Linked DNA regions of Homo sapiens: region 2 is linked to region 1. The links are contacts of gene promoters, found by promoter capture Hi-C in blood cells and fetal thymus (Javierre and others, 2016). All regions are on one chromosome and are shown on one strand. Each heading gives the region's core, a stretch centred on a gene start or on the middle of the fragment in contact. The rest is flanking DNA. Distances are from core to core; before and after follow the strand shown.

Region 1 (2,700 bases), core at 166-2,665:
AGGCGGTATAGTCTGTACCAGGCCTTGTTGGAGCCCCATGGAGACTGGGAGGAGAGGACAGCTGTGTCTAACAGAAGCCCAGCATACTTTTCCTTCTTGTTTTAAAGAGGGAGGGAGAGGGAGGGAGAGAGAGGGAGAGGGAGGGAGAGGGAGGGAGAGAGAGGGAGAGAGAGGGAGACAGAGGAGAGAGAGGACAGAGAGAGAGAGAGAGAGGAGAGAGAGAGAGATACTGGAAAAGGTGTCCTCATCAGTGTTCTAGAGTTTGTCTCAACCAGATTGGTGTTTGTTCCTTTGGTAGAAAGAAAGCAGAAGTGTGGAAGGGGTAGAAATTTCTTGCACTCTGTATTTTGCAAACTTATGTATGCAAATTTCCTTGCATATGTGTAATGAACCAGAAAAAGTAGGATTCAGGAGCACATGTTTTGGAAAAATACTGCTTTGCCTCTGGCTTTTCAATCCTCACTACTGTTCTGTCACTGGCCCTGGATTCTACCCATACCCTGGCTCTCATCAGCCCCCTGTCTTTGACCCATTTTTCTGCCTGGATTTCTAGTCCTGTGGTTATATTTTTTATATTTGCCCTTTGCTTCCATTTGTTTATCACTCGACTTTATGCTGATATAGTGTGTTTTTGTAAATTGTTTCAAATCCTTTACAGAATGAGGGCTGGGTATAAATGAAAAATTGTGTGCAAACATAAATGTAATACAGCTATCCTCCTGTATCATATTGTCCTTGAAGGTCTAGATAATCTCAGCTCCAAACCCTTTCCCCATCCAGTGAGAAGGCTGTCACTCTCCTCAAGATTTCAGTGAAATGGTTGAAGCTCATTTTTTTCCCAGTCACCCCTGGCTGCTGTTGTAAAGTGCCCACATATTTGAGAAAACTTAGAATTGCACCTCATTTCTCTGCCCAACCTCAGCACTTGCCTTTGGCTGGAGGAGTTGAGAGAGTTGTCTTTTACCTCTGTCTGCTTTCATGGAGTGCTAAGAGCATCTCCCCCACTTTCTAATGCATGCTATTTCAGTTCTCCCTGGCCCCATGTCCAAACACTGGGCCTAAGCCATCCAGCCCAGGCTCACTAAGGTGCATGGCCAGCCCTGGAGCCTGACTGAAGATTTGAAATGTCTGGTCTTCACTTGTCCTTCTCAGCCACCTCAGCAAGGGGTGGGGACAAATACAGAGTTTACTTCCTCCTCATGATGCCACCTTACCTCAAAACAACTTTGATCTGCTTGAGTTGAATGACTTTTCCACCCTCTTTCCTTGGCAGGAACAAGTGACCCTGTCTTCCGTGGCCTCGTGGGGCTGGCTCTGCTCCTCCTCCCTTGACTGAGAGACGTCATGGAGATTGGGTGGAGGGAGGACTGTAGAGTTGGTGCACCCACGTCAGCTAGTTAGGCAATTTCACTTTTCTTTTCCTCTTTGACTGAGCACCGAGGGGCAGTTGGCAGCTTCACCTCAGAGCTGCAGGAAGGAACGGGGCAGTGAAAATCGAATCGGGTGTGATCCTAGGCCAAGCTCATGGCCCAGCAGGGCCAGCAGGGGCAGATGGCAAGTGGAGACAGCAATCTCAACTTCAGGTGGGTCATCGTCTCCTTTCCCGTCTGTCCTTCATCTCTGGTAGGGTTCCCTTTCATACTTGTTATTTAATGTCTACCCAGCTTCACTCTACAGGTATACAATAGAATTCAGTTACAAATAAATAACGAGGCAATCAGATTTTTTAAATTGCAGGGATTGGCTGTTGGAGAAACTCAAGGATGCCGTGACTCACATCATCTTCCTATTCTCTTACATCTGCAAATGGCTGGACTGGAGCTGTTTGAACATCATGCCTGTTCTGAGGCTTTGTGTAGGATTGGATGATTCCCCGTGACCTCTGAACCCTCTCTTCTCCCCCAGGCCTCCTTTATCCCCACTCCAAAAGACAACTCTGTCTAAAAAGGATCTTTTTAGAAGAATTAAAATCCAAACGCCTGTCTGTTGTCACACTTTCCAGGCTGTGTAGTTGGGGACCGGTTCTGCTCTGAGCCCATCTATGTGGCTCTTAGCCCTAGAATCACTTCAGGATCTCTGAATACTTGGTAGGAGGAAGTGAAAGCAGATGAGACCCAACAAAAAAGGCAAGCAGGTAGAGAGTGAGTGCTGCTTCTGCTTTTTTTATTCTTCTGTTCTGGTATTTTTTACATATCTGGTCAGAGAAGCCTGGAAATCATCTTTAAAAAATGTAAGACAATGAGACCAGTCTGACCAACGTGGAGAAACCCTGTCTTTACTAAAAATACAAAATTAGCTGGGTGTCATGGTGTATGCCTGTAATTCCAGCTACTCAGGAGGCTGAGGCAGGATAATCGCTTGAACCAGGGAGGCAGAGGTTTTGGCGAGCCAAGATCACACCATTACACTTTAGCCTGGGCAACAAGAGTGAAATTCCATCTCAAAAAAAAAAAAAAAAAAAGACAAGTACATCAATACGGTCATTTCTTCTTATCTGTGGATTCTGTATCCATGGATCTAACCAACCATGAATGCAAAATATTTTCTAAAAATTAAAAACATAAATAACAACAATAAAAAGTAATATAAAAATTTAAAATACAGTATAACTATTTGTATAGCATTTACATTGTATTAGGTATTATAAGTCTAGAGATGATTTAAAATATACAGGAGGATGTGCATAGGTTATATGTAAAT
Region 2 (2,723 bases), core at 157-2,656, 130 kb after region 1:
CATATTTATTTTCTTTAAAATATAAAGGAAATCTATAAATACTTTACTAGAACTAATACATGAATTTAGCAATGCCATAAATACATGGTTAATAGTTTTCAAACCAATCATATCTCCTACAATGGCAATAAGGAATTTGAAAAGCAGTATCCTTTAAAGTAGCACCAGAGAGAATAAAATAACTAGAAATAAATTTAATGAAAGATGTGCTTGATTTTTAAAATTAATCTAAATAAGTGGAGAAGCAAACGATGCTAACAGATTGCAAGCTCAATATTGTTGTCAGCTCCCCCAAATTTATCTATAGTTTCAAATCAAACCCAAGAAAAATCCAAAAGGCTTTTCTCATAGAAATTGACAAATTGATTTGAAAAGATATGTGGAAAATCAAAGAATCTAGAAAGTCCAAGACAATCTTTTCTAATTGACTTCAAGACTTTCTTTAAGCCATGGTATTCAACACAAAATCATATCAGCATAAGGATAGACAAACAGATCAATGGTATGGCATAGAAAGTACAGATATAAACCCATGTTCATATTGTAAATTGCTTTTTGAATATTTTCGTGACCTTGGAGTGGCAAATTCTTCTTAGTACACTAAAGTCATTAATTATAAAAGAAAAAATAATAAATTGGACTTCATCAAAATTAAAGATTTTTTCCTATCAAAAGACATAATTAAGAAAATAAAAGGGAAGCTACAGACTGGGTGAAAATATTTACAATACATAAATCAGACAAAACACTTCTATCCATAATCTGTAAAAGGACTCCTACCTGTCAATAAATAAAATAAAATTCTATAATATAAATGGGTCAAACATTTGAACAGACACTTCACCAAAAAATAAATAAATTGCCAGTAAACACATGAAAACATGCTTGACATAATTTCCTGATTAAAGAAATACAAATTAAAACTAAAATTAGCTATCACATCGTACACACTGGAATGGCTAAAACTAGAAAGGCCATCACTGGTAGTCTTTGCAAAAACAGTTTGGCAGGTTTTAAAATGGTTAAATGTACTCTTACACAATGACCCAGTAATTCCATTCCCACATATTTACCCAAGAGAAATGAAAGCATTTTGCCACAAAAAGACTTGCACAAGAACAGCAGTTTTATTCATACTAGTCTCAAACTGAATCCACTCCAATGTCCATCAAGAGAAAAATGAGTACGCAGACTGTGGTAGATTCACACAATGGAATACCACTCAACAACAAAAATGAACAAACTAACTGTTCAACACAGCAACATAGATGATAAGCAAAAGAAGCCAGACACAAAAGCATGTATATGTTTTGCTCATTTATATGAAATCCAAGAGCAGGCAGTATTAACATCTGACAGAATAAATGACAGCAATGGTTGCCCCCTGAGAGGCTGCCTGGCTGCATGTGTTCAGTATGCAGGTTCACAGGCAGTATATGCATTGCTCTGTTCATTTTTCAAATAACAAATCAGTTTTTAGCTGTGTGTCTCCCTTCAAATCTCCACTGTTTCTTCCGAATTCTGTAGGGCACCACGATTGCTTTCCTAACCTCTAGGAGCATCCCCTACCTACTATTGCAACTAGCACTTTTCTGACCACTTTTTGTCTTCAAGGTTTTATTTGAAATCTCTTATGTGCTCATTGTCCTCCACCATTCTCTTTGTCACTGTAAATCTAATTCCTTTATTATCATTTTAATGAACTTTAACCAGAAACTTTTTTTTACAGGAATTCAAAACAATAATGCGACATTGTTTCCTGCTTTATGTTGTGTACTGGGAAGTGCCAATAATTCTCTTCTGGTTGGATAAAAAGAGCTCCCAAGTTTTCATAACATTTAGGAATACTGAGATGTTGATTAAAACATTATCAGAGCAATAACATGATCAACTAAGAACTAGAATTAGAGACTCAGCTTTAAAATTGCTTTAAAAGGAAACGGCAGCGATTTCTGAAATTCAGATGCCTAAAATGATTAACTGTATATAGCAATAGTATGGACAGATTTATATTAACACAAAGCAGAACCAGATGTTCCAGGAGATATCACTGATATTCTCATGAAATTCTCAATAATGTGGTATTATTATCATTATTAAACCACATTGTATTATTTATGAATTAATTTTATGATATATGATGGTATTTCCTTCCTAGCAGCTACAGATTAGAGAAGGACATCTTATTTTTATTTTGTCAAATTCTCTCAGTTGTTGATTAAGCTGCATTTTCAAGGTTAGATTTTTATTTATATTCCATTGACTTTCATTTCTCTGTGGATGACCTGCTTACTCCATCTAGATTCTGTAGGAATTCAATATTTTTATTTTGAAAAATATTCCAGATATGGTTAGGTGAAGATATCTTTACAATGACTTTGTTCAGTTTAGACTGGGCTTTTTCAGTGCCCTCTATATTAGTCTTGCATAGGCTCCATGATATCTTCTATTACATTTTTGTTTGTTGCTTCAATTCCATTTATTCTGGGCTCTACTGAGGACCACCTATTTTATATATGTTGGTTCTTCATAGCTTATCCGTTATACATAAAATCTTACCATCTCCACAAACATCTCAGAATCTTGATGACCATTTTCATTTGGTGTCCTTTTTCCTTAGGCTGTTCACGGAAGACCAGGATGTAGATGAGGGACTTGTCTATGACACTGTATTCAAGCACTTCAAAAGACATAAGCTGGAGATATCAAATGCAATAAAAAAG

What was found. The method cuts DNA at HindIII sites, captures the fragments that hold promoters and counts their contacts. A CHiCAGO score of 5 or more calls a contact.
Region 2: a contact is called between a fragment that was not itself captured here and the fragment with the promoter of SP140 in region 1, in 5 of 17 cell types (naive CD4 T cells, non-activated CD4 T cells, total CD8 T cells and 2 more). The highest score is 7.6, in naive CD4 T cells.

The regions. Positions count from the first base shown.
Region 1 is chr2:230,224,321-230,227,020 of GRCh38, forward strand. It overlaps SP140 (SP140 nuclear body protein), which reads left to right and starts at 1,416. Exons shown (of 27, transcript NM_007237.5): 1 at 1,416-1,583. The coding sequence starts at 1,525. It also overlaps a transcript of SP110 not described here. RefSeq lists enhancers at 1,296-1,505, 1,736-1,785, 1,856-1,935, 1,956-2,005. The HindIII fragment of the contact is 6,572 bases long and covers 1-2,700 here.
Region 2 is chr2:230,355,185-230,357,907 of GRCh38, forward strand. It overlaps SP140L (SP140 nuclear body protein like), which reads left to right. Exons shown (of 19, transcript NM_138402.6): 3 at 2,621-2,723. Among named protein-coding and RNA genes, the nearest start is that of SP140L, 29 kb to the left of the region's middle. The HindIII fragment of the contact is 5,058 bases long and covers 1-2,723 here.